4 separate regions of the Homo sapiens genome follow, and all the other regions are linked to region 3. The links are contacts of gene promoters, found by promoter capture Hi-C in blood cells and fetal thymus (Javierre and others, 2016). All regions are on one chromosome and are shown on one strand. Each heading gives the region's core, a stretch centred on a gene start or on the middle of the fragment in contact. The rest is flanking DNA. Distances are from core to core; before and after follow the strand shown. Region 1 has its middle 47 kb from the start of GEMIN8. Region 2 has its middle 91 kb from the start of MOSPD2. Region 3 holds the start of GLRA2 (glycine receptor alpha 2). Region 4 has its middle 150 kb from the start of MOSPD2.

What was found. The method cuts DNA at HindIII sites, captures the fragments that hold promoters and counts their contacts. A CHiCAGO score of 5 or more calls a contact.
Region 1: a contact is called between a fragment that was not itself captured here and the fragment with the promoter of GLRA2 in region 3, in 4 of 17 cell types (M0 macrophages, M1 macrophages, erythroblasts and 1 more). The highest score is 12.0, in M0 macrophages.
Region 2: a contact is called between a fragment that was not itself captured here and the fragment with the promoter of GLRA2 in region 3, in 2 of 17 cell types (neutrophils and M0 macrophages). The highest score is 7.0, in neutrophils.
Region 4: a fragment that was not itself captured here is called in contact with the fragment with the promoter of GLRA2 in region 3 in 1 of 17 cell types (neutrophils); the score reaches 5.0 in neutrophils.

What each region holds. Positions count from the first base shown.
Region 1 is chrX:14,073,650-14,081,046 of GRCh38, forward strand. No RefSeq gene overlaps it. Among named protein-coding and RNA genes, the nearest start is that of GEMIN8, 47 kb to the left of the region's middle. The HindIII fragment of the contact is 1,912 bases long and covers 4,416-6,327 here.
Region 2 is chrX:14,960,462-14,968,042 of GRCh38, forward strand. No RefSeq gene overlaps it. Among named protein-coding and RNA genes, the nearest start is that of MOSPD2, 91 kb to the left of the region's middle. The HindIII fragment of the contact is 5,898 bases long and covers 1-4,566 here.
Region 3 is chrX:14,526,132-14,532,806 of GRCh38, forward strand. GLRA2 (glycine receptor alpha 2) reads left to right here and starts at 3,405. Exons shown (of 9, transcript NM_002063.4): 1 at 3,405-3,994; 2 at 6,108-6,241. The coding sequence starts at 3,927. The HindIII fragment of the contact is 5,355 bases long and covers 1-5,210 here.
Region 4 is chrX:15,019,460-15,026,493 of GRCh38, forward strand. No RefSeq gene overlaps it. Among named protein-coding and RNA genes, the nearest start is that of MOSPD2, 150 kb to the left of the region's middle. The HindIII fragment of the contact is 278 bases long and covers 1,666-1,943 here.

The DNA of each region.
Region 1 (7,397 bases), core at 4,122-6,621, 450 kb before region 3:
TTAATCTGAGGTTTGGTCAGGACAGGGTTGCTGCTGTTTCCTTTCCTGCTGACACACTTTTGAGGATTTCTGTGTTTATAACCTACCCAAGGAAAGTGACCAGGGAAGAAAAACATACTGTTCACACAGAGCACATTTTCTGTTGACTCTGCTAATGCATTTGGCCAAGGACAAGGGTAAAGTTATAGCTAACATGGGACTGATGATTCATGGAGTTCTAGCCACTTTTTTTTTTTTTTTGGTAGCAGATTTAACTGGAGGAATTAAAAATTGACTGTTATCTATAGGTAAATAGTTTTTCCCAAGATGATGTGTGTCCTTTACACTTACTCTCAGCTTTTCTTGTTTGTTTGTTTGTTTGTTTGTTTTAGTTCACGTCTGTTTCTTTTCTCTTAGTAAACTTGATGCCAATTATCTGTGCATGGTTTCTGTCACATATTATTCATTAATATGCTGGGAATGTCTTCCCTAACACAAATACCCCCAAGATGCCCTTAATTTCTTCTGAGAAGTAAGAACTTGGAGTAATTAGTGGAGTGGTCTTTTAGCATATATTTTAACACAGATGTTCAAATGTATACTTAAGTGACAATAGCTGAAATAGTGTTGAGCTATGGTAAGGAAGGGGAGATAGATAAATGGGATGGCTCAAATATGCCTCTTGTATGTACCCCCATCTTAGATCTCATTTTTACCTGTATTTAGACCCCTATATTTACATAAGAGAAAATAATGGTCATTTGGGAAAGGGTAGATTATATAATAAATGGTGGTGGGAAAACTGAATTTGGAAAATTAAAAAAAGCAATTCAGAGAAAACCAGTTTAGGACCTCACCTCACACCATGCATCAAATGAATGCCAGATAATAGGAAGAATTAAATGTAAGATACAGAATTATAATAAAATTGAGAAAATTTGGTTAACTATTCAAATAATCTTTGATAAAAAATTATTTTCCATCTATGAAAACAGGAAGAAGCCAAGATGGAAACAACTGATAGATTTATAAATGTACATCAATCTATAGTTCATGTCTATAGTCAATCTATAATCAATGTATGAAGTTCAAAATTATCTCTACAACAGAAAATATCAAACTCAAAATGTTGACAGGTTAAGAAAGTATTTGCTGGCTGGGTGCTCATGCCTGTAATTCCAGCACTTTGGGAGGCCGAGGCAGGAGGATTGCTTGAACCTAGGAGTTCAAGACCAGCCTAGGCAACATAGCAAGACCCCATATCTACAGATACTTAAATGCTTAGCCAGGCATGGTGGCGCATGCCTGTGGCCCCATCTACTCAGGAGGCTGAGGTGGGAGGACCGCTTAAGCCTGTGTGGTCGAGGCTGCAGTGAGCCGTGATCATGCCACTGCACTCCAGCCTGGGCAACAGAGTAAGACCCTGTCTCAAAAAAAAAAAAAAAAGGCATTTGCTAAGGATAAGAAGGAATAATAGGCCCAGTATATTAAAAAAAAAAACTCATGTAAACTTTAACAAAGAAACAATATTTTAGTAACACATGGGAAAATGGAATATGACAGATAAGTCACAAATGAGGAAGTGAACATGATCAATAAATGTGAAAAGTTGATCAACCTCACTAGTAATCAGAGAAATGAATGGTAAAGCATGATATTAATTTTCATCTATCAAATTATCAAAAGTTAAAATATGGTAATAGAACTGGCATGATTACAGTGAGACAGACACTTCTGGACAGTGCTGTTGAGCATTGTACATCATTTCAATAAATCAGTTTAGCCACATGCATCCAGTTCCTCATACATTCCCTGGCCTAGTTGTTCACTTCTAAAAATTTATTAGGAATCTATTTAAAGGAACTGATTGGAAATTCAGACACAGATTTATTTTTCAAAATGCCCAACATAATAATTTTTAAAATTGGGGAACAAAACAGAACACAGGTTGGCAAACTATGGTCTGCAGGACAAATAGGCTCTGCCACCTGTTTTTGTGCAGTCTGTGGGCCAAGAATGGTTTTTTACACTTTTAAATGGTTGAAAAAATTAAAAAAAATATTATATTATGACATGAAAATTATATGAAAGTGTGATTGGAACATAACCACATCCATTTGTTTACATAGTGTCTAGGGCTACTTTTTTTTTTTTTTTTTTTTTGAGATGGAGTCTCGCTCTGTCGCCCAGGCTGGAGAGCAGTGGCACAATCTCGGCTCACTGCAACCTCCACTTCCTGGGTTCAAGCAATTCTCCTGCCTCAGCCTCCTGAGTAGCTGGCACTACAGGCACCCGCCACCACGCCTGGCTAATTTTTTTGTATTTTTAGTAGAGATGGGGTTTCACCATGTTAGCCAGGATGATGTCGATTTCCTGACCTGGTGATCCACCCGCCTCGGCCTCCCAAAATGCTGGGATTACAGGCGTGAGCCACTGCGCCCGGTGTCTATGGCTACTTTCACACTTGAACAACAGACTTGACTTGTAGGACAGAGATCATAGGGCCCATCATGCCTCATATATTTGCTACCTGGTCCTTTTCAGAAATGTTTTGCCAACTGCTGGTATAATAAATAATGGTATGCTTATATGATGTGATATTTGTAGCCATGAGAATGATATTTGCGATTAATTTATGGTAACACGGGAAAATACTCATAACATCATATCAAGTGGAAAAAATCTGGAACAGAACCATATATACTCGAGTTTCCCAAGGATTATTCTGTTGGATAATGGAATTTCATACATTGACAAAAATCTGAGTTTAAAAAGTTATGCAGCATAGCTTTTACTATGCTATTTTGCAGAGTGAATCTTCAAGAGGGAGAATATGGTACACCATGTCCTCAAATTTTTTGTCGCCAGAACCCAATGTTCCATGAAATGTAATTTTGTAAATGCCAGTTTATACAGAATGGCCTCCATTATTCTACAGGATGCTTGATGTACACATGCATGCACACACACAGGGTGTAATAGAAAATGAGTTAAAATGTTGACTGGGTCGACTTCTCAGGGATAGGATTATAGATAATTTTGGGAGGATTGTCTGTTTCTGTATTTTTTGGAATAAGCAGGAATTAATCTTGCAAGTAGAAAAACATTAATAGAAAATATAAAGTGATGCCTGTTAAAGGAAGAAGATTGTGGAATTAAAGAATCTTTGGGTAAATTAGAAATATTTCAAATGTATAGTATACACCTGCACAGTAAAACTTGAAGCCATTTCTATTTTTCTGTTTATCCATCATCCATTTATGTTTTCTCCCTTGTCCCTTCCTCTCCCCCCCACTCCCTCCCCATATCTATCTATCTATCTATCTATCTATCTATCTATCTATCTATCTATCTATCTATCTATCAAATTTCTGTATCTAGGTACATGTAATTTAAACAGCTATCTAAGATAACTTAGGAGAGGTTTTTATATTCTAATAAAGAAGCTAATCATTATTTTGCCATCAAGTAAATAAGAATCATCATTTCCTCCCAGTTACGCAGAAACTGGACTAGTTTTATTTTTTTAGTCAAACTTTTTATTTTGGAATAATTTTGTATTTACAGAAAAGTTTCAAAGATAGTGCAGAGAATTCCTGCACAAACTTCACCCAGGTTTCTGTAATGTTAAAATCTTATATGGCTCTAGTGCCTTGTCAAGACAAAAAAATTAACAGCACTATGTTACTGTTAACTAACAGTAACATAAGAGTTTTTATGGGTTTCCACCAGTTACCCCACTGATATCCTTTTTCTGTTCCAGCATCCAATCCAAGGAATCACATTACAATTTAGTGAACTGGTTTATTTTGATTTAGTGAAAACTTCTTAGAGTGGACTCAATCTCAATTTTGTGAATTATAAAGCACCAAATATAGGTGAAGTATTTGGCTATTCTTTATTAAATTATTAAATTCCTGTTAGTGGGCAGGGGGTTTCCAAGGGACTCCCCTACTTATGTTTTCATGCTATCTATCCATGATGTCTGGCCTGAATAAAGAACTTTAAAACTTGCAAAACATTTTTACTAATATTATCTCTGTCACCCCAATGACTCCAAGAAGGAGGCAAGGCACATATAATCTTGATTTTTCCCATTTCACTGATTAAAAAATTGAAACCTGGAGACATGTGCAAGCTGTGCAGTCACACAGGGTCTTGTGCTTAGAAAAGCCTTGTGTTTAGTTTAATGTTCTCTTTCAACCTTTTTGAAATTCTTAATTATTTATGAGCAACGGGCCCTGCATTTTGATTTTGCACTGGGTCTCACAAATTATGAAGCTGGTTCTGCCTGGAGCATTTGCCTTGCTTACACAAGGCTACATAGAATTTGTGCAGTTGGGTGGATTTTAGTGCTTCCTGACTTGGAGTTTACTCTAATTTCTGGTACACTGCAACATATTTCCATCAATCTTGAAACCTGTAACTTGTATCCAAGCTTGTAATCTGTTGACTTAATTTTCAAAAACTTGACTTTCCTGGCTCTGTACCAATACCTCAGCATTTTTGCATGTAATTTTTGCCTTGACAACTTTGGTTTCTGTTTTAAAAAAATCTAAAAACTTGCTTACCTGTGGGTTAGACAAACTGCTCTGCTAACTTACGTTCATAATAATATCCTAGCTGTGGCTATTTCCTCAGCAGCTATGGATATCATATTTATTAAATAGATTTAAAATAAAAACTACTCTATTTTGTTTCTGAGTTTGGCTAATTAGCTCATGCTGCTGTTAGGAATGAACTGTGAATTATAACCCCCTTCCTGAAGGGGTGATATTAATTTTTCTGCAGACATGGAAACATTTGGCTAAACAGTATGATTTTAAAATCTGGGAGAACTGCTTGGTGGCCAAATAGTCAAAGTAATGCTTAGTGGCCCAGATAGCAAATCCACATTATTCGTGCTGGCCCATGAAGCCCTTGATAAAATTTTTTCCACAGTTCTTTGAGAGAGATGAGGGCTTCTGCCAAGTGAGGACTTCACCCTTGGCTTTATATCACTAACAGAAATAGTGGTTTTTTTCTGGGAGCAAAGGTCTGGGCTGACCATTCTGCTTTAATTTCAGTCTCATAAAGATCTGATTATATTGGCATTGGTTGTCCAGTAGTTGGACATAGTCATGTTTGCATTTAGTTTACAGATTCAATCACAAGAATTTAGGAGAGAGAGAGAAAGAGAGAGACCCCCAAATCCCCGAGATGGGATGTTGGAATGGGTTCAACATATTTTACATGTGGAAAGGGCATGAATTTTGATGGGCAAGAGGGTGGGATGCTATGAGTTGAATTGTGTCTTCTCTAAAGATATGTTAAAATCTAACATTCAGAATCTGTGAATGTGACCTTATTTGGAAACACGGTCTTCACAGGTGTAATTAAGTTAGGAAGAAGTCATATTGGATTAGGGTGGGCCCTACTCCAGTAACTGGTGTCCTTATAAGATGAAGGAAATTTGGACACAGACACCGGAGAGAGCCATGTGAAGACGCAGGCAGAGATTGGAATGGCACATCTATAAACCAACGAACACCAAGCGTTGCTGGCAAGCCTCAGAAGCTAGAATAGGTGAGGCGGGACCCTGTCCTAGAGCCTTCCGAGGGAGCGTGGCTCTGCTGATGTCTTGATTTCAGACTTCAGTCTCAGGAACTGAGATAATACATTTCTGATGTTTTAAGCAATCTGGTTTGCAGTACTTTGTTATGGCAGCCCTAGGAAACTAATACATATTGTAAATGAGGAAAAAAAAAAGATTAAGTGAAAGTCCAAACAGCCCGAATCATCCTATAAGTATGAATGTAAAAGACAGTGCATCCTTTAAAGTTTTTTCTTCCTAATTATGATTATTGTAAAAATTGGGAAAATAAAAAGCAGTATAATTCCTTTACACATATGAAAAGTACTTTGATCCCTTTGCATATAGCATATTAGTATACACTTCCTATTTTGTTTTCTGTTCTATCTCTAAAAGCATATCAAATTATATATGCAATTTTGAAAGATTTCTCTTGAACTTAATATGCTAGCATGAGCGTTTGCAATACTGTGAAATGTTCTTTGAAATATCTTTTATATAGACTGAAATTATTCTTTGTATGGATATATCATATTCCTCTGGAAGGATGTACCATAGCTTATTTAACTACTTCTATGTTTTTAGACATTTAGGTGAAATGTCTTTAGTCTTTTTTAAAATGAATTTTTGACCAGGTTGCTGATTTTTCCCCTAATAATAGATCCCCAAAATGGTTTTATATTAGAAGTAAACACACACATGCACACACGCATATAACATACTTAATAGCTTCAAAACCAACAGAGAAGGAACTTTTCAACAAATGATTATATGAAAGCTTGCCACAGCCAGTCTAGGGCTGGTTAGTTAGCAATGCTCCCAGGTACTTCTGGGAAATTTCCCTCATTCTAGTTGCACAGAACTATGACCAGAACAGTACTTAGACCAGGCTGATCTGGCAGACTGCAGACATTGGGCATGATGAATGGGGTTTGTGTTCATGCCTGAGTGTTCTGTATTATTCTTTGCTCAGTAACCAAATGTAAATCATATGACTCCAAGATAGATGAGGGGTATCCTGGCTGGGATGAGGCACTTACTGGTACATATCTAGACTGGCCCTCTTGCTGAACTGGTCTTGTCTATGCGTGTAGGAACAAGGCACAAGACATGTCTAAAACATCAGTTTCTAACTTGTAAGAAATGGATAACAAATTTAATTCACAATATTACTTCAAGCTATAAAATATCTACATTATATCAGATAGTAAGAGTAAGGAACTTAACATTTTGTTGAAGGACATGAAACAATACCTAAATAAATGAAGAAACACACCATGTACTGTTGGGAAGACTTAGAATACTGACATTCATTAATTATTAAATAATGACATTATTATATAAATGTCATTATTTGCCAAGCATATGTAAACGCAAAATAATTCCTATCAGAATCCAAATGAAGACATTTTTAGAATGAGAAAAATTATAGGCAGAAGAAATGATAGTTGCCAAAAAAATTTATGTTTCAGAAGAATAATTGGGGTAAGGATCTTGTGTTATCAGATAAAACTTATAATAATTCTATGGTAATGAAAACAAAATGTCAATGGCATAAGAAATAATAACCAGGACAATGGGACATAGAACCTCAGCACATATCCAATAATATAGAAGTTAATCTTGGAAAATCTGGCACTATAATTCAATAGGAAAATAAATAATTATGTTGGTATAATTTTGCTATCCATTTGGAAGGAAACTAATATAAATGCCTACCTTATACCATTTATAAAAATATATACCTGGTGAATTAATATAGCTCAATGTGAAATCAAATCTTTATGAATATTAGAAGAAAATTTAGAAAAATATTTGTTTCTGTAAACTTGTGGGTGAGTAGAGA
Region 2 (7,581 bases), core at 368-2,867, 430 kb after region 3:
AGAGTCTTGCTCTGTCACTCAGGCTGGAGTACAGAGTTGTGATCACACCCCATTGCAGTCCTGACCTTCTGGGTTCAAGTGATTCTCCCACCACAGCCTCCCCAGTAGCTGGGATGACAGGCATGTGCTATCATGCCTGGCTAATTTTCTTATTTTTTGTAGAGACAGGGTCTGGCTATGTTGCCCACTGGTCTCAAACTCATGGCCTCAAGTGATCCTCCCACCTCAACCTTCCAAAGCTCTGGGATTACACTCATGAGCCCCCATGGCTGGCCTATGCCAGCTTCTTAACAAACACCAAGTATCTGGCCTGGGATTATCAGGAATCTCTTTTGTGGTTGATTTGACCTCATGGGTCCTCAGATACAATATCAAGTTGAATTGAATTTTATGTTTAACTCCTTTCTTGGAGGTTCCCCTCTCTCCCTCATGCATCAGCAAGTGAGCAGGTGATGGACATTTTGGTACTGCCAGGAGCATTTCTCCTGACTTAATCAGGTGCAAAGTGCCACTAAGTTTCTGTGGCTCATGTCACCCTTCAACTGACTGCTTTCAACGGATGTTGGCAAGAGGCAGACATCATGATAGAATCACACACCCTAATAACTCTCTCCAAAGCTGCACTCATTGGCCACCAAGAACAAGAAAAGCAAGACTCCATCCCATGGAAAATCTGTTATGATAGACAGCTGGACCCTTAGAACAAAACTGGTTCTTCATTAAAGTTGGAGTGGGAAAGATATTACTGGCAAAAGTTGAGCAAGGTTTATAACAAAGTACAGGTAGAATTATGCCATTCTTCTGCATAAAACCATCCAATGACTTCCTATAGTACACTTAATAAATCCCTTGGCAGGCCCTTCATGGTACATCACATACCAGGCCACCATCCACTTCCCCAATATCAGGCCTTTCCCTGATTTCTTCATTCAGTTTTTTTGGGGACAATCTTGGCTTCCTCGCTAAGATTGTTCCTGTATCATACTTGTATTTTATGGTCCTTCTCCCTGAAATTCTCTCCTCCCAGGGGATGCCCCCTTCCTTATAATTCAGTCCTCTGACCACCATTGATTCACAGAAAGGCCTTCCTAGATTACCCCTTCTCAAATGCTCCCACCCCTGATATCTTAATCTCTCTACACTTTTACCCTGCTTTATTGTCTTCAGAGACCTTAACCCTATCTAAAATCACATTATTTATTTTAACCTGATTACAGTCTGTTTTCTCCACAAGAATATATGGTGGGGCCTTGTTGATCTTGTTTACCTCTGTATCCCAAGCATCTCTCAGGGTATGGCACATAGTACATGTTCAATAAATATTTGCTGAATACTAAATAGATGTGAATAGTGAAATATATATATATACACACACACACATATATATACATATATATACATATACACACACACACACACACATATATATATACATATATATACATATACTAGACAGCATGTGCTATTATTTAACAATTTCAACCCATTTTCTTCCTCCACACACAGGGACCACAGGAAGTTTGTCTAACAATTTAAGAGGTCCAGTGTTATAATATGTGAATAAGATGGTGTTAATATTAGAACACAGCTAATTTTTTTTTTTTTTTTTTGAGACGGAGTTTCACTCTTTTTGCCCAGGCTGGAGTGCAATGGTATGATCTCGGCTCTCTGCAACCTCCGTCTCCCAGCTTCAAGCGATTCTCCTGCCTCAGCCTCCCTAGTAGCTGGGATTACAGCCATGCACCACCATGCCTGGCTAATTTTGTATTTTTTTAGTAGAGATAGGGTTTCTCCATGATGGCCAGGCTGGTCTTGAACTCCCGACCTCAGGTGATCTGCCCACCTCAGCCTCCCAAAGTGCTGGGATTACAGGCGTAAGTCACCACGCCCAGCCAAAACACAGCTAATTTTTAAGCAATGGCTCTATTACCGTTTTTTTTTTTTTTTTTTTTTGTGAGACAAGGTTTCATTCCTGTCACCCAGGCTGGAGTGCAGTGGCGGGCTTTCAACTCAATACAACCTCTGCCTCCCAGGCTCAAGAAATCCTCCTGCATCAGCCTCCCAAGTAATGGGGACTACAGGCATGCGCCACTCCCCCAGCTAATTTTTGTATTTTTAGTAGAGACGGCCGGTCGGGGGCGGGGGGGATGTTTCGCCATGTTGCCCAGGCTGGTCTCCGACTCCTCCCCTCCAGTGATCTGCCTGCCTCAGCTTCCCAAAGTGTTGAGATTACAGGCATGAGCCACCGCGCCCAGCTCTATTAGCTTTTAATCATGATCAAGTCTCTTTCGTATGGAAAAAAATAAAAAATTCCTTTAATTCCATTTCTATCTCACGTTCACTCCTAGAAACTGCCCCCTTTTCCGTTTCCTTTAAACTAAACTTTGTGTCTGAACTTCTTTCATCATTTACTCATTTCCCAGCACCACTTTTGCCAAAACAACTCTCAATAATGCCATCAGGAACTCCATCCCACAGAAACTTTTCTGCTTCTATCCCTTCCCTGTGGAATACAAAAGAAGCGCCACTATATGGAAGCCTAGACTAACGGTGCCCAATTTCGACTCATTGTGCACTGATCTAAGTAGAAAATAAAGGGAAATTTGAGTACCCACCTACTGTTATATGTTCGGTTATGTATTTATTTTTAAATTATATGCTTATAGTATAGTTTAATATAGTATGTACATTACAAATAAAAGCAAATTTGCAAATTAATATGAAAAAGGTGAAGAAAAATAGATACTAAATGTCTTGCTAATTAGGATGCTTCATATTTTAATTCACTAATATCTTAAACATGATAGATGCTTAACAAGTTCCATTCTTAATCATACTGTATGAAAACCCTTATTTCAGGTAATCTTGATGATTTTAAATTTTTCTTAGCTGATTTTTCATCAGCTTTGATTGATTTTCATTACTCATGTGACTGATGTAAATCTTATTTTCTCTCTGATGCTTGCATTATTAGTATTATCTTATTAATATTATTGTTTACTGGTATCTTTCAAAGCCACTTATACATTTCAGAGATTTAAGTCAGTTACCACTAGATAATACAATCTGTAGACAGACATTTGCAGAGGCCATCTGTCACCATACACTGATAGCAAAAAAATGAAACTAGAGGCACCACTGACCATTCCTCCTCATTGTGGGATTCCAGTACTCTCTCCAGATGTCTCATGGACAGGACAGATGGAAGGAATGAGGGGGCCAGTGTAAGCCCTTATGTGACGTACTAGAAAATCCTGTTTCCCTTCCCTTTTTTTTTTAGAGAACAATAATCTTAAATAGAAGTTTGAATTTTCCCCCTGAACTATGATCTTGAGAAGTGTGTACTCTAATTTGCAAACCTGTAGTCTAAACCAGGGGTAGGCAAACTTTGTAAAGGGCCAGAAAATAACCATTTTCAGCTTTGTGAACCATGCTCTCTTTGTTGCAACTACTCAGCTCTGCTGCTGTAGGGCAGAAACAGCCATAGCCAATACATGAATAAACAAGCACTGTGGTATAATAAGAAATAGATTTGGTCTCTGTCTCCAGTTCCTGCCACAGAGCTCATAAAATCCTTGGAATTTCCTGAGTAATAGGAGTGTCTTTTGTGAGTCATAAAGAGCCCCTTTTAATCAGACCTGAGTTTACTCTAATGAGGTGACTTAGGGTGGGGTCCCTAGATATCCTCAAGATGGGGCTGGTTGGTCACCAGAAAAACCAACTGATTGGAAATTTTACCCCAGCCACAGACTTCTGGGAAGGTGAGGAGGGAGCTGGAGATTAAGCTCTATAAAAACTCTTGAAAAAAGAGATTTGATGAATGTCAGGATTGGTGAACACATCAGGGTACTGGGAGGTTGGTGTACCCAGAGAGGGCACAGAAGCTCCATGTGCCCCCTTACCCCATAACTTGCCCTGTGCATCTCTTCCATCTGGCTCTTCCTGATTTGTATCCTTTATACTAAACTGGTAAACATTAAGTGAAGTGCTTTTTTTTGAGTTCTTTGAGCCACCCTTGCAAATTATCAAACCTGAGGAGTGGGCCGTGGGAATCCTCAATTTATAGCTGGTCGTCCAGAAGTGTGGATGGCTGGACTTGTGACTGGCATTTGAGGTGGGCATAGTCTTATGGGACTGAGCCCTTAACTTGTGGGATTTGACACTAACTCCAGGTAGTGTCAGAATTGAGTTGAATTGTAGGACATCTAGCTGGTGTCCAGAGAATTGCAGAATTATTTGGTGTGGGAAAAAATCCACATATTTGGGGTCAGAAGGGTTGTGTGAGTGTAGAGAAACAGTGTTTTCCCACAAGCATAGCTGTTGTTCCAACATTGCTTTATTTACAAAAGTGGGTGGCAACCAATGTGGCCAATAGCTGTAGTTTGCCCATCTCTTGGTAAGAACAGCAAAAACCCAGATTCTCACAGGGGGAATTTGACACAGAAGAGCCTTGCTCCCAATAATGAAAGAAATAGTACAAGATGACAAATGCTTTTAGGTTCAGAGAATTCTAAATGTTGCTAAGGGTTAGGAAAGCAGGTGCAGGCTTCCAGCTCATTAAATCAAAGCTTTGGAAAGTAAACCACCAGGTCTCAAGATTAGAAAGATTTTCATGGTGTGCATTAGGTTGAACTAGAAGAAAGTGCTGATATTTGACCATTATTGACAAGCAAAAATGGCAACTTCATATGACTGAACTTATTTGCAGAAATAATACTAACGGTTAGGTTTAATTGAGTGCTTACTATATTTTTGACACTGGACCAATATTTTGCATGCATTCTTTTACTTATTTCTTATATCAAATCTGTAAGGTCACTACTATTATTTGCACTTTCCCAATAAGGAAATCAATAGCTGTTTACATACCCTGCCCAGAATCTCACAGCTAGAAAATGCTGGAATAGAAAATACTGTAACTGAACTTAGGCTTATTGAATCAAAAGTCCTTCCTCTTAGCCATCAAAAGTTTTCATGTTTAAAAACAATTTTTTTTTTGTAGAGATGGGTGTCTTGCTATGTTGCCCAGGCTGGTCTTGAACTCCTGACCTCCAGCAATCCTCCCACCTTGGGCTCCCAAAGTGCTGGTGAGCCACTGCTCACAGACATGAGCCACTGCACCTGGCCTGAAAGTAATCACTTTGGAAAAGTGAGGTTATGAGTGAAGAAGAAAAAGGGCACAGTATTATTTTGATGCACTATTATACAAATGAGCCAAATATGACCTCTGTATAATATGACCTCTGTATAATGGCCCCTATGTTGACCTCTGTATAATATGACCTTTGTATAATGGCCCCAAATATGACCTCTGTATAATGGCCCCTATGTTGCTTACTTCTTCACAGAGTGCTGAGAGGCTACAAGTGCCAAACTCAAATTCTTATGCATCCAGTTATTTTAAGTATAGCTCTCCACAAGCATATTTTATAGCATATTTTATATCAACTTATATATCTCCATGGTTTTATTTTTATATTTGTATGCAGGAGAATAACTTTATTACAATGATTATTTGCTTTTTTAAAGTTTTTTTAAAATTATACGTTAAGTTCTGGGATACACGTGCAGAACATGCAGGTTTGTTACATAGGTATACACGTGCCATGGTGGTTTGCTGCACCCATCAACCCATCATCTACATTAGGTATTTCTCCTAATGCTATCCCTCCCCTCGCCCCCCACCCCGACAGGTTCCAGTGTGTGCTGTTCCCCTCCCTGTGTCCATGTGTTCTCGTTGTTCAACTCCTACTTATGAGTGAGAACATGCAGTGTTTGGTTTTCTGTTCCTGTGTTACTTTGCTGAGAATGACGGTTTCCAGCTTCATCCATTTCCCTGAAAAGGACATGAACTCATCCTTTTTGTGGCTGCACAGTATTCCATGGTGTATATGTACCGCATTTTCTTTATCCAGTCTATCATTGGTGGACATATGGGTTGGTTCCAAGTCTTTGCTATTGTGAACAGTGCTGCAATAAACATACATGTTCATATGTCTTTATAGTAGAATGATTTATAATCCTTTGGGTATATACCAGTAATGGGATTGCTGGATCAAATGGTATTTCTGGTTCTAGATCCTTGAGGAATCGCCACACTGTCTTCCACAATGGTTGAACTAATTTACACTCCCACCAACAGTGTAAAAGCATTCCTATTTCTCCACATCCTCTCTAGCATCTGTTGTTTCCTGACTTTTTAGTGATCGCCATTCTAACTGGCATGAGATGGTAACTCATTGTGGTTTTGATTTGCATTTCTCTAATGACCAGTGATGATGAGATTTTTTTTTCATATTTTTGTTGGCTGCATAAATGTCTTTTTTTTTTTTTTTTTTTTTTGAGACAGAGTCTCGCACTGTCGCCCAGGCTGGAGCTCAGTGGCATGATCTTGGCTCACTGCAAACTCCACCTCCCAGGTTCAAGTGATTCTCCTTGCCTCAGCCTCCCAAGTAGCTGGGATTACAGGTGCCTGCCACCATGCCCGGATTTTTTTTTTTTGTATTTCTAGTAGGGACAGGGTTTCACTATGTTGGCCAGGCTGGACTCGAACTCCTGACCCTGTGATCCACCTGTCTCAGCCTCCAAAAGTGCTGGGATTACAGGTGTGAGCCACCACGCCCAGCCATAAATGTCTTCTTTTGAGAAGTGTCTGTTCATATCTTTCACCCACTTTTTGATGGGTTTTTTTTTCTTGTAAATTTGCTTAAGTTCTTTGTAGATTCTAGATATTAGCCCTTTGTCAGATGGATAGATTGCAAAAATTTTCTCCCATCCTGTAGGCTGCCTGTTCACTCTGATGATAGTTTCTTTTGCTGTGCAGAAGCTCTTTAGTTTATTTATATCCCATTTGTCAATTTTGGCTTTTCTTGGCATTGCTTTTCGTGTTTTAGTCATGAAGTCTTTGCCTATGCCTATGTCCTGAATGGTATTGCCTAGGTTTTCTTCTAGGGTTTTTATGGTTTTAGATCTTACGTTTGAGTCCTTAATCCATCTTGAGTTAATTTTTGTATAAGGTGTAAGGAAGGGGTTCAGTTTCAGTTTTCTGCATATGGCTAGCCAGTTTTCCCAGCACCATTTATTAAATAGGGAATCCTTTCCCCATTTCTTGGTTTTGTCATGTTTGTCAAAGACCAGATGGTTGTAGATGTGTGGTATTATTTCTGAGGGCTCTGTTCTGTTCCATTGGTCTCTATCTCTGTTTTGGTACCAGTACCATGCTGTTTTGGTTACTGTAAACTTGTACTATAGTTTGAAGTCAGGTAGCATGATGCCTCCAGCTTTGTTCTTTTGGCTTAGGATTGTCTTGGCTATACGGGCTGTTTAAGTTTAAAGCAGTTTTTTTTCAAATTCTACGAAGAAAGTCAATGGTAGCTTGATGGGCATAGCATTGAATCTATGAATTACTTTGGGCAATATGGCCATTTTCACAATATGGATTCTTCCTATCCATGAGAATGGAATGTTTTTCCATTTGTTTGTGTCTTCTCTTATTTCCTTGAGCAGTGGTTTGTGGTTCTCCTTGAAGAGGTCCTTCACATACCTTGTAAGTTGGATTCCTAGGTATTTTATTCTCTTTGT
Region 3 (6,675 bases), core at 2,155-4,654:
AAATAGGCTGGTGTTAACCAGACAAAGATGGGGGACATGATATACTTCATGAACAATACGGTAAGCATTAGGGAGTAAGAAAAAAGACCAATATGGCTACAGGGGAAGAAATGAGATGATTAGTGGATGAGATGAGGAACAATGTAGGCATGGGCCAAACCATGTGGAACCTTTAGGTCATTGAGTAGTTTCCTTGTTCTACACAAATATCAATGGAGAACCATAGTATTAACCAGGGGCTGTGACATAATCAGATTCTGATTCTGAACAAATCACTCTGGTTTCAGCATACAGGATGAGGTAGTAGAAGACCAGCTGTTGGTTCAGGTAGATTAGTAAGAGGATGGCTGCAGCAGTACAGGCAAGAGATAAAGATATCTCAACTGGGGTCATGGAGGTTGAGATGGAGGGAAGTGAGAAGATTTAGGAGAAAAAAATCAATAGGGCTTGGTGAAGAACTAGATATAGTGGATGATGGAGATGATGCCTTGGCCTTTGGTTGGTAACAATGAAATAGACACAGTAGAATAGGAGTAGGAGTTGGAGGAATTATCAGAAGTTCGGTTTTGACATGAAGAGTTTAAGCAGCTTTTGAGACATACATTAGGAATTGTTTAGAAAGCAGTTGGATGTATAGGTCTGGGTAGAAATATACATTTCTGTGTCATGTACATAAAATGATAATGGAAATTATATTACCATAATATTTTCTAAGCGAGTGTACTGCAAGAAGAGGAGACAGCCTAGAATATAGCCTTTAGGAAATCCAACTTTTATAGGCCAGGTAGAGGAGGATATGCCTGCCAAGAAGACAGAATAGGAGGTAATCCAGGAGTGCACTGTGTCACAGGGTCAATAGAGGGAAGTGTTTCCAGGAGGAAGAAAAGGCCAATGACATTAGGTACCATGGAAATGTCAAGTAAGATGAGAACAGAAAAATGTCTTTTGGACTTAGTTACAAGAAATTCACTGGCAGACTTAGTGAGAGCTGTTTCTGTGGATTGATAGGGCTGGAATCCAAATTTAGGAGAGCTGAGAAATCAAATGAGGAGGCTAAACTAGATCCTCTCTAATGTCCCTTACAACTCTACAATAATATAATGCTGTGATTTCATGCTGCTGGCCTGAGTCTCCTTTGTCACAGATTTCCTTACTCATCCTATTCCTGGTTAATAACACAACTCTTGTTAAAAGAAATGATTCGGCTGGGCGCGGTGGCTCACGCCTGTAATCCCAGCACTATGGGAGGCTGAGGTGGGCGAATCACAAGGTCAAGAGATCAAGACCATTCTGGCCAACATGGTGAAACCCTGTCTCTATTAAAAATACAAAAATTAGCTGGGTATGGTGGCATGTGATTGTAGTCCCAGCTACTCAGGAGGCTGAGACAGGAGAATCGCTTGAACCCGGGAGGTGGAGGTTGCAGTGAGCTGAGATGACGCCACTGCACTCCAGCCCGGTGACAGAGTGAGACTCCATCTCGGGAAAAAAAAAAAAAGAGAAATGATTTACAAAGACTATATTATTTAAGCATCGTTACAACCTTAAATTTGAGAGAAATAATTTTCTTCTATCTTTATACCTAATTTTCTTTTGGAAAGAATCTTGAACACAAAAAAATCTGTGCTATTTTTCCATGTAGAACCAATTGAAGAAATATTTCCAGGAATTGATTTTATATATTTTTTTGGGTCAGGACAGCAGGGATAAAATCAGGTCTAGAGTTTCCATGTGGATGAATTTGGAAGTGAACAGATTTGAAGCTGCAGTCCAGGGATGTCTCACACTACACCATACTGTTTTTCTTTTAAATTGAATCATTTTCTCTAGGCTTTGAAAGTTAAGAAAACATATTTGAAGAATTGATTTTGTATGTAAATAGAATGCTTGGGCACTACTGCATTTCATCTAAAAAGAGATTCCTGTATTTTCACTGTCTTACTGGGATAGACATCTTATGAAAGGGCATATAGACTCTTGCTACTCAAAGTGTGAACTGTGGACAAGCAGCATCAACTTCAGCTAGGAACTTCTTAGAAATGCAGAATCTCAGGCCCCACCCCAGACCTACTGGATCATAATCTGCATTTCAATAAGATCCTCTGGTGATTTATATTAACATTAAAAGGTAAAAAGAACTTGCCATCTTTTTTCTCTGAATCTACTTCTTAAAAACATAGAATTCATTGTTACTCTACTATGATATTTAAACTGATCCAAAGTTAGTCATTTACGGAGTAAAAATTAATCATATTATTTTGTTTTAAAATTAAGACCTCCAGTAAAGCACATAGGTGACTAACAAGGAATATTCCACAAAAAGTAGGTTACTCTCCTAGCTTATGGTAGGACATGCATTTTTCATTCCCCCTTCCCAGAAGCTGCTAATTATCCGCATTGGACTATCTACCCTTCCTCTTTTTTATTAATAATAATATTTGTAATTTTGATTTGAAATAGCAGGGTTACTCGTCAGACTTTTGTACAGATTTATGAACTTCCACTATTTTCAGTCCCTTTAGCCAATTTAGGAGAATAGCATATGCACTTTATTACATGACTGTTCCTAGTGATTAACATCTGGAATGGGCAGATGAACTAAACTCCCAGTTGCACTTTTCCTTGCTCCATTTCTAACATGGAGCCCTGCTCTAACCTTTAACCATGGCAAGAAAAGATTGCTACTGCCCCCTGCCGGCCCATTGTCTCATTTCCTTTTCTACAAATCTGTGACTTGCGGATGCCCAAGGATTTTGAGCCACTGAAGAAAGCTCAGTTGGAAGGGGCTTTCCCTAGTACAGAGGTAGAGAGATCCTTTGGGACTAGGCGGCTAAAATCAAATGAAAACATTAAAAAGGCGAGGAAGGCATAAAGGACTTCTAAATTAAATTATCGATCTTCATGAACCTTCTTCTGCACGCGGGCTTCTCTGTGCCAAGGAAATGTTCCCTTCTCTTCGGCACAGGACTCCTCTTTGCCTCCGGCTTGCACTGACAAAGAGTGAACTGTCCACACCCTTATTATAATTTCAGTACTCTGAATCCTGTTCTCTGTTTCCCCCAATTTCGTTTTCCCACGATTAAACCTTATTCCCTTCCCTTTTCTGCTTCAAATTCCCGTCCCGCCCACCCACCGACAGCCTAGCATTTCCAGGAGCTCAGACCCCACTTCCCTCACCCTCTCCGTCTCCCGACCTCTCTTCTCCTCTTGCTGTCATCGTACCCCCTTCAGTATCCCCTCGCTGAACGGCCAGTCACTCTTTGCCTTCGAACAGCAGGCACGTCCCCTCTTGAATGCTTTTCCCCGACCCCCGCCCCAAGCAACTGAAAAAGGAAACATGCGCACTTCAGAGCTTGGAGCTGTCCGAGTGCTGAAATTTATAGGCTGGGTAAGATCACGTCTCCGTCTCATTCTATAGCCCTCATTCCAGCACAGGATCTCAGCAATTTTTCCCTCTTCCCCCCACCCACTCCAGCGCGCAGAGTCCTTTCTTCTCTCTCATTTACAACTTCTTTTTAAAAGAAAACATTTTCTAGAAAAAGGGCTTTGCTAAACAGAAAAGATATAAAACAAAAGCCACAGCTATCTAGCATGGCATTGTCACCAACTCCCTTTGCATGGTGATGCGATTAAGGTAGCAGCATTTTTATTATTCAGGAAAAGCAGCTGGGGGATTCATCAGTTCTGAGGCTTTGTCTTTCTGGGTTAACTGATGGTCCCAAGCCTCGGTTTGACCTGACCATGATGCCCAGGACTGGCACTTTTTCTTTTTTCTCAGCAAACTGTACAAAACCAAATCTCTTTTTGATTTTCAAGGAAACTAGGTTCCTGCCAAATTTTGAATCTGGACAATAAACAGACACTTTGTCCTAGCATCTTTCTGGAATCATTTCGGGATATTTTCCACAAGCAACACAGAAACAGGAATGAACCGGCAGCTAGTGAACATTTTGACAGCCTTGTTTGCATTTTTCTTAGAGACAAACCACTTCAGGTAGGTGAAACGACTTTGCATGTTGATATTTAAATTGTTTAAAAGAGAATGTGTCATGTAATTGTGTATTTATCTGTGCTCTGGACTATATTATTTTAATTTTATAGAGGAAAGTTAGATATCTTTTGTTCATTTAAAACGCCTAATAATTGTGGGAGGGTGGTAAATTTTTCACAAAAGCAAGTTTTATGATGCATAGCCGCACTCTATGCAATTCAACACACATTTTCACAGCCAACGTGATATTAAGGTAGTCTGATGAGTTGCATGCTCTTTACATTTCTATATAAGGGTAATTATTTTTCTGAAAGTAATTTAAAGAGATTATTGGGTGCAGTGTTTTTCATATAAGATGATTGTATTAATTTGGCAGGAGCATGCTCATTTTAGATAAAATATAAAAGATCCCTAATTCTCAGCCAACTTGGGACTTCTGTTATATTTCAGAAACTAGAAGCATACTATGAGGACTACAATTCAGGAATTTTCTTGAAATATCAAAAATTTCTTTTTACTACTATATTCTACTATTCAATCTGTTTGGAAATGGATTGCCTACCAAAATTTAGTTAATATGACATAATTGTATTTATGTACATATGAGAAGTGGAGCATGCATAATTTTAAAAAGTGAGAAATTACTATTTTCATGCTTGCATTTTCTACATGGTTTACGAATAGTTGCCAAATCAATTGATACCTCAAAATATCAAATCATTACCAGTAAGTGAAATAGTCATCTAATAACAGAGAGTGGAAGACTGAGCAGAGACAGGAGATGCTCTTACAACAAAGTATAGGACTCTAAATTTAATTTTCATTAAATTTTATGGCATTTTTTCACAGAACCAAGATAAATGGAACACATAGTAATAATGCTATGAATACTGGGAAAACCCACTATGTTCCTTTCAGGTTTACACCTCCTACTATGATTAAGAAAAAATATAGGCTGGTTTTTATTAGAATCATCATCATCATCATCATCCTCACCACCACCACCATCATAATCAAATAATACTTGATTAATCAGATGAATCTGCATATGAGAATGTGAGTATTTATGCATGCTCATATCAATTTTTAACTCCTACAAAATATTTATATCATCTTTGCACTTATTTTGAATACCCCTTCTTTGAAAAGCTGGCAAGAATGTGGTATTTTCTTAGTGATAGAATTCATAAGACACTATTTGTTAAACTATTGAAAACAAAGCTTATAAAATACATACTTTAGGGAAGAAATTTCAGTTAACCACTATGTATTGTGAAATAATTAATTTTGCTACAAACCAAATATGCTATGTTTAATAAGCTCTTTATTACTTTTAACAGGAAAATGAAAATCTGAGAAATTTTTCACCAACTTTCAGTGTTTTGGTGATAAAAAGTCAAAATGATTTAGAAGTGTGTTTTCATCAATATTTTTTAGAGAGTCAACAATTTAAATGCTTATATAAGCATTTAATATATAAGCATATAAATAACTGATAAAATAATAGAAGTCATATACATGCTCATTGTTGACCTATTTTAAAAAGAAATGAAATGTCCAAATGAAGGTTCTCTTTTAGATATCACATTGAAAAATATTAATAGTTGATAGTTGGATTAGAACTAGCAGATGGGAAAAATAAGCAATGAAATAATAAGTTTGTTCTGCCCATCTTATTATATATTTCTTATAAAAGGTAGATGACTTATATTTAGGGCCGAAATGCTGAAACAATTTTTTTAAGTCAGATAGAAATGATTTTAAGACAATCACATGAATTTAAAAAAATATCATCTCATTTCTCTGAATAGTTTTAACTATATATACATAAAATCTACAACCTAAAACTAAATACATTGTCTGTTCTCAAACATCTTATGGTTAAAGTTTGGAAACCTGGGTGACGCGACTCAGGATTTATAGTTCTCATCATTTAAAGTTAACTTTAGAACATGTACAAGTTCAGAAGTTGGCCAAAGAGTTTGGATTTTTCTAGTTTTCTTCATACTAACATATCAAATATCTTTACCAAAATGTAAAGTTAAAAATGCAGTGAGCGTTAGCTCTCAAGGGATGCAAATGAAATTGTTGCTAAAAGAGTTAATGATGTGTTTAGGACGGCTTTCTGCAAAGACCATGACTCCAGGTCTGGAAAACAACCTTCACAGACCCTATCTCCTTCAGATTTCTTGGACAAGTTAATGGGAAGGACATCAGGATATGATGCAAGAATCAGGCCAAATTTTAAAGGTAGGTTCCACTTAAACTTACGTTAAGCCTTTGAGAAATCTTCTAGATGTTTGAATAGTTAACTGAAAAACATTTTCAGGGCTTTTAATTATAAAATGAAAATGACAAGTATAGTGTTCATTTTATTTTGGTATTCTTTTGCGTTAGTTACTGATATTTTCATTTTACCTGTCACTTCCCACATTTGAAAACTTTCCTTGTTTGTGTTCTATTTCACAAATAAAACTAGTGTCATAAATTATGGCCACAGTCCTTATTTTTTCGTAAGTGGGAGTGTGGCTGAAAGTGAATACAAGAGCAAGTGATAGACTTGACTTGCTTGAATATCTACCAGGATGCATGCAAGATTCAGTGGTTACTCCAAAATATTTGGTTTTGATTTTAAATACCTACATCAAAGTAGAGTTTAAATCTCTATAAAATATGCCACTTTA
Region 4 (7,034 bases), core at 555-3,054, 490 kb after region 3:
TGGGTATGAGATTAAATAAAATAATATAAAAGCACTTAACAATCTCTGGTGCATATTAAGTTCTCAATTAATCCTAATTATTATTATTATGTCTGCATATAGGAGTGCATGAGAATTAATAAGGCCTTTTTTTTGATATTGTCTTATTTTGTCCACATAGAATGAATCCATATATTACTTTTGCAAAAAATAAGTAAAGACAAAGATGAGTGGATTTTTAAGTTTTTTAAAATCTGGAGAGTTGGGTTTAAAATAAATAAGTAAATAAATGGCATTCCTATGAGTAGACTGCACTTGAATAATAACCTGGTTATCTTCCATAACCTCAATATTTCCCATATGTTCTATGTAATCAGCATTACCTCTACTCTTATTTGAGGTATGAATACCCGTAGTCTTTGACTGTTGTTAGCTTATGATTTGAAATAAAGTCATATCTCTTATAGGAATTTCAGTAACGAGTGTATTCTTAGATAAGTACAATAAAATCTGAACAGTCCTGAGAACTTGATAACATTGAGTTTTTACTACAAAAGGATGTTCATTTTTGGATCCAGACTCCCAGGACTATCATTAACCCAGAATATCTTACACATTTTTTAAATCACTTATGCTTACAACAAAGCCAATTATAAAATCATGAACTTTGCTAAGCTTTCCAGACTCTAGGATTCCTCCATGTGGCAATTATAAACAAGACATTGCCTAGATGCCTGGGGTCCTACAACAGTCATCTAGGTCTCCTCATATCTTGGTCCTGTGGTTCTCTTGGAAGATCACATAGTGATGAACTGAGAGAGCAAGATGACTTTCAATTGAATTGCTCTTCTATCATTCACATCTCCACTCACATATTATCTTCTATAGAGATGCCTTGGACTATAAGCAATAGACAAACTAACTCAAATGGATTAAATAACAAGGGAACGTATTTACGTCACATAATAAGAAGTCTGGAGGTAGTGTGGCTCCAGAGTACACAAATTAAGTGATTCAGAGATTTCTGGGACTAAAATTTTTTTCTATCTTTTTGCTTTTCCATCTTCAGTCTTCCCTCTCATAGTTGCAAGAAGCCTCTAGCTTCACTCCAAGTGAAGCTCCAAGCATCACCCCTCAAACATCTAAAGCCTGAAGGAGACAATATATTCTCCTCATATCTTTGTGTAAAATGGGGGACAATGGTTCCAGAAGTCTCCAGCCAACTTTCCCTTGAATCTCATTGACCAAGATTGCCTCGCTGTCCCAGTCCTAAACCAATCACTGGCAAAAGAGATAGAACCACCGCAATAGGCTCAAACCAGTTAAGATTTAACCCTTGAGGTGCAGATGGGCCTGCCTTTCACTAAAGCATATGGACACTTGCTTTAGAGGGAAACCAATATTCTTCAAGCAAAGAAAGGAGTGGTAAGGTCTTGTGGAGCAATGAGCAGTGCTATGTAGACCTTCCATGACCAACCTAAATTTCACCCCACATCCTCAATTTCTTCCTCACTATCTTGCTCTTTTTTTCCTTTATAGTTCTTATCCCTTTTAAAAACTGTATTATTTGCTCCTTGTTTATTTTCTTCCCCCATCACTGTAATGTAAGATCTGTGTGGGAAGACAGTTTGTCTGAAGGTGCTCAATAAATGTTTGCTGAATGAATGAATGGTGTTGTCCAACAAAAGCTTCCCAAAATGGTCTTTGTAGGGATAAATTCCAGAAAAAGTGGGATAGTGGCAAGGAGGGAAGAATTAAAACAGGCAGGGTGTGAGACAGACTAAGATAGAATCACAGTTGCTTTTCAGTTTATTGTCTTACCTTCAGGCAATTCTATATCTAAATTCAGCTTCGCAGCTTTAGGGAGGCTTCAGCTTTAATCAAACCATCCTGGATATGCTTTGTGGAATGTAACCTGATAGAAACCTGACTAATTGTTGTTATTGTGGCTCTACCCAGAACAAAGCTTATCTTTTCTTTGCTAGTGAACACTCAAATTACTTTGGTCTTTTGGTCCACATCCTTGGACAAATATGGATGCTGATAACACATCGTATTTTCATTTCCTGGATTTACTACTACTGTAGAAAGAGGCTGTTTTGTCTCTTGCTGAGAATTTCCACAAATAATATACCAAAGAATGTTAACCACAGATTGAGTACATAAACAGTAAGGAGACTATAGAAGATTCCTCAATCATGGGATTTACTTTACAATAAAGATAGGGACATGATAGTTCACACCTACCAAATGTAATGACTGCAATTCCTAGAAAATAAAAGAGATAGAAAAAATGAACATTAGCTGGGTACAGTGGCTCACTCCTGTAATCCCAGCACTTCGGGAGGCCAGGGCAGGAGGATTTCTTGAAGCAAAAAGTTTCAGACCAGTGTAGGCAGGAAAGTGACATCCCATTCATATATATATATATATATATATTTATATATTTATATATATTATATAAATATATATATAATTGTATAATATATATTATATATTCATATAATATAAATATAATATATAATATAATAAATATATATAATATAATACAATAATATAATATATATATATATATATATATATGTATACATATCCTACTCAAGCACCATTGGATCTGCTGGGCCATATTCTTGGGATAGGAAGAATTAAGCTCAGAAACACTTAATTTGAAATTTTAGCGGGGCACGGTGGCTCACACCTGTAATTCCAGCATTTTGGGAGGCCGAGGCAGGTGGATCACGAGGTCAGGAGATCGAGACCATTCTGGCTAACATGGCGAAACCCCATCTCTACTAAATATGATATTATAATATATATCATAATAACACATATTATATTATATTAATATATATTATATATATATTTATATATATATTTTATATATGTAATTCATATATATAATATATGATATAAGATATATAATATATATTTATATATTATATATTATATATATTTATATATATATTATATATTATATATATTTATATATATATATCCACCTCAAGCACCATTGGATCTGCTGGGTCATATGGCCCAAGTGGCAGAGCAGCTTGCACAACAGCCTAGGCCTGTTGCAAAGCCTTCTCCTGTTCTGGACCCCACTAAAAAGTGGGTGGGGTCCAGATAAATGGGCAAGAATAACACACCCAAATGAGGAATGTGTTGCCTCCAAAATCCAAATATATATATAATATATATAATATATAGTATATAATATATACTATATATCGTATATAACATGCGATATATACTATATATCGTATATAACATATAAGATATATACTATATATCGTATATAATATATATACTATATATCGTATATAATATATATACTATATATCGTATATAATATATAATATATACTATATATCGTATATAATATATAATATATACTATATATCGTATATAATATATAATATATAATATATACTATATATCGTATATAATATATAATATATAATATATATCGTATATAATATATATTGTATATAATATATAATATATATTGCATATAATATATAATATATATTGCATATAATATATAATATATATTGCATATAATACATAATATATAATATATTGTATATAATACATAATATATAATATATAGTATATAATACATAATATATAATATATATTGTATATAATACATAATATATAATATATATTGTATATAATACATAATATATAATATATATTGTATATAATACATAATATATAATATATATTGTATATAATACATAATATATAATATATATTGTATATAATACATAATATATAATATATATTGTATATAATACATAATATATAATATATATTGTATATAATACATAATATATAATATATATTGTATATAATACATAATATATAATATATATTGTATATAATACATAATATATATATAACATATAATATATAATATATAATATAATATAAATTATTAATATAATATATATTATATATAATTAATATATAATATATTTGACTAAATATATATTATAAATTATCTAATAAATTATGATATATAAATTATTTATATATTTATATATTATATAAATACAAATATATATTTATACAATTTATATTTATATTTATATAATATATAATTATATATATATTTTTATATTATATATTATATATATTTTTATATTATATATTATATATATTATATATGTTTATATATAATTAATGTATATTTATATATTATACTTATATATAAATATATAAATATATATATTTATATATTATAGTTGTATATAAATATATAAATATATATTTATATATTATAGTTGTATATAAATATATAAATATATATTTATATATTATAGTTGTATATAAATATATAAATATATATTTATATATTATAGTTAATATAAATATATGAATATATATTCATATATAATATATATAAATTATATATTTTATACAATTATAGAATGTATAATATGATAATATCATATACATATTATATTATTATATTATATTATTGTATTATATTATATTATCTATAATATGTAATATACAAATAATCTATAATATAATGTAATACATATTATATATTATATATTTATATATAAATTTATGTACATTTTTATATATAGAAAAATGTACACAAAAGGCAATTTATTCTACTTTATAGAAAGTTTTAAAGGATATCATTTCATGTTTTCCACTCAAATAGCAGCAGGCAATGATATACTCTTATTCATCTCTTATTTTTTCCTAAGTTGTGAAATGAAGATAAAATATTTCAGTGAATTAGTGCAACTGCTTTGCAATAAGATCACCTTGTTACCTTTCAGGTCTCAGCCTCAAAAGAGATTTCTTTAGAAAGTCCTTCCTGACTGTCCTATCTAATGTTATCCTCTCCTGTCCTCCCCCATCATATCATCTTGTTTTATTTTCTTGGCATTTTTCACTAGTTGAAATCATTGTTTATTTACTTCCTAATTTATTTGTTGTCTATCCTCTCTTGCAGTAGCCCTTGCACCCAGACAAGCACTTTAGCACATGGCAGGTGCTCAATCGTTATTTAAGGAATTATGTATTCATCAGCTGGCTTTCTACACATTGATAGTAATTGCCCTCTGAACACCCTTCCCTTATCATCTTTCTCCTTGTTTCTGCTGCCTTTTATAAAGATATTACCTTAAACATCTTGTGAGATGCCAATTCTTTAAAAAGTTAAACAGAGAATTGCCATATGATCCAGCAATTCTACTCCTAGGTATGTATCCAAAAGAAATAAAAAAATACGTCCACACAAAAACGTGGAGCATTATTTATAGTAGCCAAAAAGTAGAAACAACCCAAATGGCTATTAACTGATGTATGCATGAATAAAATGTAGTCTATCAATACAAAGAAATATTATTTGGTAATAAAAAGGAATGAAATACTAATACATACTACAATATGGATGAGCCTTAAAAATATGCTAAGTGAAAGAAGCCAGTCACAAAAGGTACATACTATATGACTCCATTTGTATGAAACATCCAGGAAAGCAAATATGCAAGATGGAACATAAACTAGTGGGTGTGTAGGGCTGGGAGTTCTGGAAACTAGAGGTGACTGCTAATGGGTATGAAGGTTTCTTTTTTTCCCTTTAACTGCCAACATGGAATTCTTTATTTGTTAAGTTATCCTTCACAAATGAAAGCAAGACACAAACATTCCTTTCTTTCTGTTTTATAACAAGGCTTTATTTTAAAGGTAATGAAAATGTTCTGAAATTGATTGTAGTGGTGGTTGCACATCTCTATGAATATAATAAAAACAGTTGAATTCTGCACATTAAATTGGTGAATTGTAAGGTATGTGAATTATATTTCAATAAAGATATTATACTTAAAAATTTGGGAAGGGAAAGAGAAAAGGTAAAATCTAGACTAGTGATTTTAAAAGACTCTATGAGGGAGAAAAATTTTGATGAAATAAGGTATAGGAGTCATTCTTTTCTTTAATTCATTTAACAAATACTTATTGAGGCATACAAACAGTATAGGGATGTGACTTTGTGACAGAGAAGCAAATCATCATTACTATCTGTAAGAATAACCAGATCCACACTTCACACAGAGCAACAACCAAGTGCTTTATGGGACCAGGAAGGCAGATGCTCACAAGTGGATGAAACTACATTACATTTTGCAGTTGAGATATATGAGAAAATATTGCCTATCAACACCAAGCCCTGCAATAGAGACTGGAGAAATTGCCAAACTTTTTGGAAAAGATAAAATACATTTCAAAGGTATGAGAGGCCACTCTCATACCAATGAGGCGCTATTGTTAAGGAGCCTAAAATCAATGTGTCAGAGATTTCCTGCTGACTCTGAACAGAAGCTGATGCTAAACTTCTAGGGACATATAATTGAGTAGAGGAAATATAAGAGTCAAGTAATCAATGCTAACAAAACCCAATGTTCTTTAGTGTGTCCCACAATAATACTGTCAATATTAAAGATCAGAAAAAGTTCCTTCTACAACTAAAATTTGAATTCATGACAAAACATTGTTTCAATTTAATTGCCAGTGTTTTTTTAAAAAAATTAGTGATAAATAATAAAGGTTTTTGACATCTTTGATTCATCAAAATATAGTATATCCAGAAAATGTTCCATAAAGACCTCTGTATTACAAAAAATATTTTAACAAAGTCTTAATACACAAACAATAGACTGGAAAAAATTTTTGTAACACAGAGAACAGATAGTGGTTTAGTATAAATAACACAAAAAAGACTCTTAAAAATTGTCAAAATGGAAAAAAATAACCTACAAAAAGAATGGATGAAGAATCTGAAGAGACATTTTCAGGAGGGTAAATCCATTTGGCCAAATAAAAATATTAGGATAAAACCTTTTTAAGTAACAAAATATCATGTTACATTTGTAAGATTGACAACAATTCTAAAGGCTCATAATACTTTTTGCTGACGGGAATACTGGGGAAAATAGCAATTACAAAATTGCTGGTGGAAATGTGAATTATGACAATTATTTTGGAAAGCAATCAGGTAGGATTGATTGAAATTAATACAAATATATACT